Regions from separate parts of the Homo sapiens genome. Here region 1 is linked to region 2. The links are contacts of gene promoters, found by promoter capture Hi-C in human tissues and cell types (Jung and others, 2019). All regions are on one chromosome and are shown on one strand. The core of a region is centred on a gene start or on the middle of the fragment in contact, and the rest is flanking DNA. Distances in the headings are between cores, read along the strand shown. Region 1 has its middle 58 kb from the start of PIAS1. Region 2 holds the start of CALML4 (calmodulin like 4).

Region 1 (6,052 bases), core at 2,188-4,687, 210 kb after region 2:
AATAAGAAAAAAAAGCCACACCCATATAAATAAATTGAATTGTCGGAATTGAGTCATTGTTGTGGCATCAAACAGATGTAGAGCAAATATTTAAAAGAGTAGAGTTGTGTGGGCTGGGCACAGTGGCCCATGCTTGTAATCCCAACACTTTGGGAGGCCGAGGAGGGAGGAGTTCAAGAACAGCCTGGACAACATAGTGAGACCACACCTCCATAAAAAAATTGAAAATTTTAGGCTAGGCAGAGTGGCTCATGCCTATAATCCCAGCACTTTGGCAGGCTGAGGTGGGAGGATCACTTGAGCCCAGTTCAAGGCCAGCATGGGCACCATAAGGAGACCCTTTATCTTGGAAAAACAAACAGAAAGAAAATAAAAGAATAGAATTGTGATTTCCTACCAGCTTTCTATAATCTGTTCCTATTTTCCCAATTCCTCATTCCTCCAAAAGAACATTTTTCACAGTTAAAAAATAATCTCCAATTATTCTTTCATGAGCACGTCCTGAGTGGGATTCCATAGCTTATAAACTTTCAGTTAGTGTGAGTGGCTGATGATGATGACAATGATGCCTCAACTATGCACAGTGATTAATATCTCAATGTCAGTATTTCACAATATGGAGCTCAAGTTACAGTCTTAAACCAGGGGAAAAACATGAGAGGTATTTTTAGTGAAAATCCTTGTTGAAAGACTCCCCACCTATAGAAACATACAGAATAGCTGCAGGGGAGTAGATCATCGTTTTCCTAAAATTTTGGCAAGAAACTGTGAGGAGTCCTGATAAGGCTGGCAACACGGAAGAATATTTTTTCCTCTTGGTGGCACCCAGCCAGCTCCTGGCAGCCCTGTGCCAGCTTCCCAGAGCTGCAAATGGCTTGGAGCAATTTTATCTTGACTTTATTATCCTAACTCACAACCTATAGAAGCAATAAAAGAGAAAACACGACGGAGGAAATGTGAAGCAGTAGCAATGGGCCATGACCAATTTAAGATGAAGTTCAAAATGCACAACCGAGCTACAGACTTAGTCCAAATTTGAACTTAGTAGGTACTAAGGTGGATAAGCCCCCCAAAATGTAGTGGCGTTAGAAAAATACAAGGAAAAGAACTATAATATTCCTTGGACTCCACGTGGGGCCAGACAGGCAGAGATTCTTTTTCCTCCCTCTTGGGAGACTTGAAATGGAAGTCATGGATGATAAAAATGATTTTCTATGTAATTCATAGGGCTATAATATCATCTGTAGCATTACAAGTGATTGTAATACTACAGACACTGATCATCATTGATTCATGCATTAATTTATGAAATATGTTATGACATCCACTCTGCCCTTAAATAGCTCACAGTCCAGGGAGGGGCTTAGTCATGAAAACAAATAGTTAGAAGACAAAATGATAAGTTAGGTCAGGCATGATGACTCATGCCTATAATCCCAGCCCTTTGGGAGGCCAAGGCAGGTGGATCACTTGAGCCCAGGAGTTCAAGACCAGCCTGGACAACATAGTGAGACCTTGCCTCTACAAAAAATAAAAATACATTAGCCGAGTATGGTGGCACACACCTGTGGTCCCAGCTACTGGGAAGGCTAAGGCAGAAGGATTACTGAAGCCCAGAAAATTGAACCTACAGTGAGCTGTGATCATGCTACTGTACCCCAGCATGGGCAACACAGCGAGACCCTGTCTCAAAAAACAAACAAGCAAAACCCAAAATAAGTTATACAACAAAAAGATGGGATGCAGAGAGGAAAGAGTCTGATTTATCCCTTGAGGATAGCAAGCTGGGTGAAAACCTGAGATTCTGGGGCTGAGACAGGGAATTCTTCTTCATAGAGAGTTGGGCCACTAGAACCAGAAGTTTGAACCATGTCCAGGATCCATGCAGAAAATTAAAGTCAAAGGCAGAAGGAAAGTCCTAGGGCAGGAGGACAAGACAAATGGTTCAGAGGCAGCTTGCATTGCTGGAGCACAGAGCTCCAAATCCTGGAACCAAGGAGACCAGATTGATCACAAAAAGGTAGAGTCAGCATCAATTGCCTGAGTAATTCCCTCAGTCCCAGCAGCCCTGTCACTTCTTTGGGCCCCACCTCATGATCAAGCAACCAATGAGTTAAGATGGCCCAACAGGGGCCCCAGGACCACACTTCATGCCAGGCCTGCTTCTGTGTGGATTGCTTCTACATGCTGGTCAGGGGAGTGATGTGAGAGTAGATCAGCTAGCTTGGAGGGCTAAGGATGCAATGAAGGCAGAGCCTTGCCCTTGCTCTTGGGGGGAAAGGGGGATGTTTTCTCAGAGACACTGATAAACAGGCAGGTGTTCATCTGGTAGAAATAGGAAGTGAGGGAGTGGCATGTGTAAAGGCAGGAAGCGTGTGACAGGCTGGGCAATGGGCTGGAGGGGTCATGGCTACCCATGAGCATCAGCCAGTTGAGTTGAGCTATTTGGGGGACCCTTGGGTATGGCCTTGGTTACAGGTATAGGACTTTATCCCATAGACAAAGAGAAGGAAGATGTTCTCTTCAATTAAGAAGTGGTTCTGGGCCGGGCACGGTGGCTCATGCCTGTAATCCCAGCACTTTGGGAGGCCAAGGCAGGCGGATCATGAGGTCAAGAGATCGAGACAATCCCGGCCAACACGGTGAAACCCCGTCTCTACTAAAAATACAAAAATTAGCTGGGCATGGTTGTGTGTGTCTGTAATCCCAACTACTCAGGAGGCTGAGGCAGGAGAATTGCTTGAACCTGGGAAGCGGAGGTTGCAATGAGCCAAGATCGCACCACTGCCCTCTAGCCTGGCGACAGAGCAAGACTTTGTCTCAAAAAAAAAAAAAAAAAAAAAATTAAAAAGAAAGAAAGAAGTGGTTCTGAATCCTCAGGTGCCCAGGAGCTCTCATTGCCCTGCTAGATAGGCCTGAAACCTGGCAGTCACCATGCTCTTCTCCGTGTCCCAGAGAACAAGCCACCAGGAAATAGAAGGGAGTTGTTTGCTGCCATTTCACTGCCTCTGCGCTGAGTAGGGATGCAGATAGATGTTCCAGCTACAGGGCAGCTTTGAGAGAGTGCCCAGAGGGCTGCAGACATCAGCAGCACCCCATGACCACACCAAAGAGGCCTCAGGAGAGAAAGCAGTTCCACTGTCCCTAATCCTAGGACACAGCCATTTCTCTAGGCCTTGACCTGTGACCTCCCAGACTCCCAAGAGGCCCACAGTCTGTGACTGATCAAGAGGTAGTTTCACATTTGTCCTTTGTGGCAAATAATACATCCTCATATTAAAAGAAAGCTAGCTTACTAGGGATACAGCTCATTTGTCCCTGGTCTGGCCCTTGGGGAAAGAGCTTGATTGTATCCAAAGCATAAGCATCGTCTAAAAATCCAACAGACTTTCTTTCCTTCCCATCAATGTATAAATTCACCTGAAACACTGCTTTAGAACGGTCAAACCTTCAGGGCTTCCAGAGGACTACTCCACCCAGCCTCAAGACAGCCCTGTGAGGGGGGGAAAATGAGGCGCAGCAAGGCCAAGGCCCACTGCTCATGAAGCTGAGCTTCAAACCCAGACCTGCCAGACACCCAGTCCATGCATTTCCCACAGGCCCACAGGGTTGCTCCTCCTAAACGGGCGGAGAAGCAAAGGCTGCTCTTTCCAAGGCTCTGTGGGTCCAGCAGAACATTTGCTTGTCAGGTCAGGTGAGTTTATTCATCTTATAATTTAAACCAGACTGGGCCTTAAAGACAACACCTCATGAGGTTGAAAAGTATGTGGGGAGGGAGGGTTCATAATAATATTTTGCATTAATAGGGGTCTCTGTTTTCCCAAGCATTTTACAGTTCCCACTGAACTGGGTCTTCCAGCCCTCCTGTGAGAGAGTCAGAGCATTTCTTACCTCCAGCTCCTTCAGAGGATTAGGGCAGAGGGCAGCCAGCCTGCTTCACCTGAGCTGGCCCAAACCTCAGCTGCTTCCCCTTAAGGGGTTCCAGTCCCTCAGTGTCACTACCAGCAAGGAGGTTTGAACGGCAGGGTCTCTTCAACACCACATGCTCCCCCTGATGGCTTGCGAGGACCATCTGAGTCCTCACTCCTGATCCTGTTGGGAGCAAGTGCCTTTTCTCACAGGAGGGAGAGGCCACTCTCCTCCTCTGCCTGACCTCTTTATCTCCACAGCAATGTCATATGAGGCGAAACTAGGAGGATAAGATATCTAGGGGAATCTCTGTGTAGTAGTGGGAAACATTTTAAGCTTGCGTGCTATATAATTTTTCATAGTTTGACGGAGCACATCAATAAGTTAAACCCTCCCCAGGGCTGCCATGTTGCACAACTCAGTCCTACCTGGGGCCCTACCAGTCTCTAATCCTGTGCCCCAGCCTCAGGCTTCTCTGAGAAAGCTTCCTCCTTTGTGCTTCTGCCTTACAGATCTGACTTGCACATCTTTTTACTCTGGCTTGCAAATCTTCTCCCACTTTTCAGGAAATCTCACCTTCAAAGTCTAGGGCTTGATCTTACCCCAAAGCATCTCCTTCTCCTCAATACCATTCTTTAAGTCTGAGTTATTGAGTCTGGGATGATATCCAGGGTCAGCAGGACTGATCACAGTCAGCAGAGGCACACTGTTCCATAAAACAGAACTACCATCCGGAGGATCAGGTATGCTTCTTTATTTTTCTGATTAACCAGGGCATAACTTTTATTTTATTTTATTTTACTTTGAGATGGAGTCTTGCTCTGTCACCCAGTCTGGAGTGTAGTGACACAATCACAGCTCACTGCAAGCGCTGCCTCCCGAGTTCAAGTGATTCTCCTGCCTCAGCCTCCCAAGTAGCTGCGATTACAGGTGTGTGCCAGCACACCTGGCTAATTTTTGTATTTTTAGTAGAGACAGGGTTTCATCATGTTGGCCAGACTAGTCTTGAACTCCTGACCTCAAGTGATCTGCTTGCCTCGGCCTCCCAAAGTGCTGGGATTACAGGTGTGAGCCACCACGCCCGGCCACCAGTGCATAACTTTTATTAGGTTGGTGCAAAAGTAATTTCAGTTTTTGCCATTAAGTAATGGATAAATTAGATAGATTGGATACACACATATCTGTAATGTTTTCAGTCTAAAGTCCTAAAACCAAACGAAGCCTGCAAACATCTTCTATTTGGCCAGTATTATGAGTTTTTTTTTGTTTTTGGTTTTGGTTTTGTTTTTTTTGAGACTGAGTCTTGCTCTGTCGCCCAGGCCGGAGTGCAGTGGCGTGATCTCGGCTCACTGCAAGCTCCACCTCCTGGGTTCATGCCATTCTCCTGCCTCAGCCTCCTGAGTAGCTGGGACTACAGGTGCCCGCCACCACGGCCCGGCTAATTTTTTTGTATTTTTAGTAGAGACGGGGTTTCACCGTGTTAGCCGGGATGGTCTCGATCTCCTGACCTCATGATCCGCCTATCTCGGCCTCCCAAAGTGCTGGGATTACAGGTGTGAGCCACCGCGTCCGGCTGGCCAGTACTACGTTTTTAAAAATACCTGAGAATTGGAAATCCTTTAGGTAGGACAGGCACTCTCAGCCACAGTCCCCACTGCTCCCTGCTGCCCTACACCCAGGCTGATTCACTTATTTATATTATCTGTGTTGCCCTTAGAGGCATCTGTGTTTGCAACCACTCTTCCAAATCCACAAAGAAGGAAAACATCTAATTGTCCCCTAGTTTGCAACCGTGCTTCTCTCTCAGTGGAGTTGGTATTGCACATTCTTAGCAGCAATGTGCTTGATCCTTTCCTTAAGCCTCCTTCTGCCTAGAAAGCACCACAATAGGCTTGCTTGGCCCTGCTGGGATTGTAACATTTCATTACTGAGCTGCTTGTTTCCTAGAGATTACTCTTCTAATTGTACAAATACACAGTCAAATCTTTGAAGCTGACTCTGGAGTTGGGGGACAAGTAACAAGCACTATATCCTTAACTCCAAGCAGGGTAGGAGGGAAGTTCTGACCTAACCCCAGGACTGACCTTCAGATTATGCTTTCTTGGCCAGGTGTGGTGGCTTACGCTTGTAATCCCACCATTTT
Region 2 (5,302 bases), core at 809-3,308:
TGCAGGTGACCCTCCTCTACCCAAAGCTCTGTCCCCCTGCTCCCACTCCAGAAGAACTGCGGCACGCGCTTCGGGCAGCCTAGCCACAGGCTTTGAGCGCCTGCATTCCTGGGGGCTGGAGGGTGGGGTGCCAAAGGCCCTGAGCAAAAGCCAGAGCTCCTCTCATCAAAGCCTTTACAAGGTGCTGGGCCCAGAGGCTTTGCCTTGACAGAGTGGCCCAGGGTTTCAAGGGAGGAGGAACCTCCCCCTACCTAGGACCCTTCCTGTGGGGGGTCTACAGAGTCAGGGACAGAAGGGAAGGGACCCACAGGAAGTCACAGTGGTGCCCAGGGATGTGTCAGCCCCCAGCCACGGGGACGCGGGATTCAAGAATGAAGTAAATACAGTCACAGCCCCAAGTGGTGTTAGAGGTGTTTTTTGTCTTTTCTCCCTTTCGTGCTGAGGTGTAGCACACACGGTGCGCCCTACAGCATGGTGAGTTGCTGTATCGTGAACCCTCACGCAGCCATTGCCCCACGCTGGTGTTTTCCATCTGTGCGTCACCCCCGGAGACACCTACACACATAAGGAGGGAGTTGGCCGGGGCACCCCAGCACACACTGGCCTAACTCCAAGGAGGCACCTCATCTCTTCTGGAGCCCCTTCCCACAGGCAAGGGGATTCAGAGGGAGCATGTTGGCCTGGCCGCCTTCAGGCTTCCAGAGTCCCAAGTGACTTTCCTTGATGTCCTTCTCTCCATCCTCTGCACAGAGGCAGCCTTCCCTCCTCTTATCCCTGCCATGGGGTTTGGGAGGGGGAGCCTCAAACTCTGACAGGGAGGAGTCGGAGTCCCCAGCTAAAATTCTCTGGGTCTAGAAACAGGTGTAAAGCGATTCTGGGGATGTGATTTGGGAGAAAAGCACACTTTCCACACAGAGGCGGTCAGGAAAGGAGCGGGGAGGGGAGAGTGGGGCACAGGCAGCGCCTCCCGTCTATGCGCCTGTGTGCAAAGTGGCACAATGCCCCCCTTCCTATTGGCAGTGCAGCCCCTGGCCAGCAACCACTCGCACCTGGGCTGGGGGCCTTTGTGTAGGGCACACCTGTGCAGCCACACCTACTTGTAGAGCCTCATAGACTCAGCTGTGGACAAAAGCCTCACGCCCCAAACAGGGAAATGGGATCTCAAGGGGAAGAAGCTGGGGAGGCCTCACACCCTGCCCCCATTTCCTCCTATGTGGGGGAGGGGAGCAGCACGAACTCCTGAAGACTTGGGAGCGTCAGCAGCTTCTGCGGAAGGGGTGGGGCTGAGGGTGGAGAGAGGAAGGGAAGGAAGAAAAGGGGAGCCTTCCTGGCCAGGGTAACCGGCACTAAGAGGCCTCACTCCAAGCCCCCGAGGAGCCTGTGGTGGGGCTGGAGACCCGGCTCAGGCCCCTCCACCACCCTTAAAGTCCTCAGAAGGTGGGAACTGAACTGGCACAGGATGGGAACCGGCTGTGCGCTGGCCACTTGATTTTGCCAGCTGCCCTGTAATTCAGCTGGTGAGGAAACTGAGGCACAGACTGAGGTAGAATGATTCGCCAGTCACTCAGCAAGTCAGCAGACGGGGAGGACTGAATCCCAGCCTGAGAGCACCGAAGCTTGTATCCCTGCAATACCGAGCCCCAAGCCTGCGAGCCCCGGTGCCCATCTCTGAGTTAGGCCGTCTTGGAAGGGTTCCCTTCCTCCTACAAGATGGTGTGTGAGGAGCCTTCAATACGACCCGGGGTGTAAAGTGTCCAACTCTAGTAGGGGCCTGATGGCATCCCCGCCGAGTCCCAGGAGAGAGAGAGAAGACCCCTTCCTGGAGTCCAGGGCTCCCGGGAAGAAACACTGGCATTTGTCCCTTTGCTTCGGCTTCTGGAGGCAGAGACTCTGAGCCCAGGGAGAGCCTTCTGCAGCCCCATTTCCTCAAAAATCCAACCTGCCCAGGTGGCGGGTCATGAGCTGTGCTCAGGAAGCTGGAATCTGACCCTGGTGGCGTCGGGCCCAGTCTCCATGGCAGCCGAGCATTTATTACCCGGGCCTCCACCCAGCTTGGCAGACTTTAGACTTGAGGCTGGAGGAAAGGGAACTGAACGCGGTTCTGGGAGCAGCAAGCCCACGGGTAGCAGCCGAGGCCCCAGAATGGTGAGTGTGAGGGTCTGTGTCGGCCTGGCCAGGGCTGGGGGCGTGAACCTCAGGTGGAGCCCTCCCCTGACTGTTTTCCTTTCTCTGCTGCAGGCCAAGTTTCTTTCCCAAGACCAAATTAATGGTAGGTTGGGTTTGTTCTTTGATTAGCAACTCAGCAAAATATGGGTCTCATTAGGCAATTTGCTCTGCTCATGTTTTCTTGGTGGGAAGGAAGGTGGCTGTGGGAGAGCTGGGCCCACCCAGGGCCAAGAGCTGCGGGGAGGCTGCTGTTGGCGGGGTGGGGGTTGGGGGTAAGCCTCCAAAATAGACATGTGGCTTTATACTTGTCAGTGTGACTTACAAGCCAGGGCGCTAAGACAGAACTTACTAGGTTTCCCTCCAGAACCTGACCAGTTGGATTTGGGGACTGAGGGGACTGGGGATGGAGAGAGAGACCATTAAAGGTATGGCTGGCAGCAGGGAAAGAGGAGGGGCTTTGTAATTGAGACAGAACAGAGGCCAGGTCTGCACTCTCTGGCAGGATGCGTCTACTCTCTGCGCCTCAGTCTCCCTATCTGTAAAATGGAGGGTCCACTGAGCCCCCTTTGCCCTGGCATCAAGCCTGGTTTGGGCGTGAGCACTTTATTCCCTGGGTCCCCTACTCTGCCAGCCCTCGACCAGGCTTCAGTTTCACACCGTGCAGGGTTCTATTTCCAGAAGGCCAAGAGCAAAGAGTTGCGTTACAAAGAACTTGGGGGCCCAGACCTGAGCCAGGGGAGCCTCATGGCTGCAGCCCCCCTGCACCTGGCAGGAGAGGCCCAGGAGGCACAGCCAGCTGCTGCTTGAGGTTGTGACCCTGAAACCTGTCCCAACAGTGGACGTCAATGGGCCTGAGAGTCCCCCGAGGCATCCCATTCCTCCAGGTCTTTGCTGAAACATCGCCTTCTCAGTGAGTCCTTCGCTGACCACTGGAGATAAAATTACAGGCACCTTGGGCCCTTGTGATCCAGGGTAGGGTCCTGAGAGCCCAGCCAAGTGGGGTTAGGGTTACCTGGGCAGGAGTTCCAGAGTTCTGGGTATTCTGAGCTTGGTCCAGAGGGGCAGGAATTGTGAGCTCCAGGTGGGCACCTCCACGTAGAACCCTGGAACTCTTTATCCCAAGAGGAGGGCCAGGGCAGGAGCAGGGACTTTTAAAACACAGGGCCCGGGGCAGTGCCCTCTTGTCCAGGTCTAACGGTGATAATGAATGGTGGACTGAGGGCTGGAGTCCAGCCTTCAGCCTCAGCATCCTCCCACCCATGCCTGGTTTTGAGGCTCACTGACCCTCCCTCCTGGGATAGCCAAAGCTCCCAGAAGGGAAGAAGGTAAATTGTCTTTGTATCCCAGTATCTGACACCAAGAAAGTGGCCACCAGTGTTTAATGAGTGTGTGAAAGACTGGATGGGGTGGCCTAGCGAAGTGGGAAGAACAGGGGCTTTGGAGGCAGCAGACCTGAAGCCTAATCACCCTTGAGCCTCGGTTTTCTCACCTATGAAGTAGGATATGCCACCTTACCAGGCTGCTGCGAGCCACGGACAGAGGGGAATAATGTCAGTTACATGCTGGACGCTGGGCCAGGCATAGCCAGGTGTCACCCACATGTGGGCTGGGGCTGGCTCACTACAGCTAGCAAGAGCCATAGTTTTAGGAATTTTGCAAGCAGGATGTTAAAGCCAGCCATTATTAAATAATGTAGGATCAAACAGTGTTTCAATCCCTACATCTATCTGTACAAAAAGTTAAAAAGACAGCCCTATTGTGATCAGTGGAGATGGAGATTTGAAAGAAGTTTCAATTTAATGAATGTGTTTGGTAAAAGGGTGAGAAATAGTTTAACAGTAGATCACATCAGGTTTAATGACCATTCATTCATTGGAAAAAGAATCGCACTCATTGGCGCGCAGCTTCATTTGTCAAATCATGGTTGAATCGAAACTATAGGTTGGCAATGGATATAAGAGTTGGCAAAACTTGGGCTGAGTGCAGTGGCTCACGTCTGTAATCCCAGCACTTTGGGAGGCCGAGGCATGTGGATCACCTGATGTCAGGGGTTTGAAACCAGCCTGGCCAACATGGTGAAACCCCATCTCTACTAAAAATACAAAACTGGCCAGGTGCAGTTGGCTCATGCCTGTAATCCCAGCACTTTGAGAGACCGAGGGAGGCAGATCACCTGAGGTCAGGAGTTTGAGACCAGCCTGGCCAACATGGTGAAACCCTATCTCTACTAAAAGTACAAAAATTAGCCTGGTGTGCTGGCAGGCACCTGTAATTCCAGCTACTCAGGAGGCTGAGGCAGGAGAATCACTTGAACCCAGGAGGCGGAGGTTGCAGTGAACCGAGATTGAGCCACTACACTCCAGCCTGGGCAACAAGAGCGAGACTCTGTCTCAAAAAAAAAAAAAAAAAAAAAAAAGCCGGTCATGGTGGCACATGCCTATAATCCCAGCTTCTTGGGAGGCTGAGGCAGGAGAATCACTTGAACCTGGGAGGTGGAGGCTGCAGTGAGCTGAAATTGTGCCATTGCACTCTAGCCTGGGCAACAAGAGCAAAACTCTCTCAAAAAAAAAAAAAAAAAAAGTTGGCAAAACTCATTTGTGGTAATCAAGTGGCTAGATGGAATTTATTTATTTGAGACAGAGTCTTGCTCTGTGCAATGGCATGATCTCCGCTCATTTCAACCTTCACCACCCAGACTCAAGGGATTCTCCCACCTCTGTCTCCTGAGTAGCTGGGACTACAGGCATGCACCACCACACACAAAACATTTGTAAATATTTTGTAGACATGAGGTCTTACTATATTGTCCAGGCTGGTCTCGAACTCCTGGGCCCAAGCGATACTCCTGTCTCACCCTCCCAAAGTGCTGGGATTACAGGCGTGAGCCACTGCACCCAGCCCTAGATGGAATTTATAATAAAGAATAGTGTACATTTCTGTATTATTTGTAAATTGTGTGCTACACATCCTTTATGTTTGTACAGTGCAGAGGACACAAGTACATTTATGATCAGAGCTGGTGGTTAAACATCCAGCACAGCTGGTGTTATCCTAGGCCTTGCACAGGTCTCTTTCTTGTCCTGGGGGATTTGCATTTTCAAAGAGAAGACTTAAAGGGGATTTTTAATCCAATTCA

The links. Contacts are between HindIII fragments. The study calls those that stand out against the background at their distance.
Region 1: a fragment that was not itself captured here is called in contact with the fragment with the promoter of CALML4 in region 2 in 2 of the 25 tissues and cell types used here (IMR-90 fibroblasts and adrenal gland).

What each region holds. Positions count from the first base shown.
Region 1 is chr15:67,993,576-67,999,627 of GRCh38, reverse strand. No RefSeq gene overlaps it. Among named protein-coding and RNA genes, the nearest start is that of PIAS1, 58 kb to the left of the region's middle. The HindIII fragment of the contact is 3,828 bases long and covers 1,524-5,351 here.
Region 2 is chr15:68,202,088-68,207,389 of GRCh38, reverse strand. It overlaps CALML4 (calmodulin like 4), which reads left to right and starts at 2,058. Exons shown (of 5, transcript NM_033429.3): 1 at 2,058-2,145; 2 at 2,239-2,269. The coding sequence starts at 2,143. CLN6 (CLN6 transmembrane ER protein) reads left to right here. Exons shown (of 7, transcript NM_017882.3): 7 at 1-398. RefSeq lists an enhancer at 1,065-1,359. The HindIII fragment of the contact is 22,474 bases long and covers 1-5,302 here.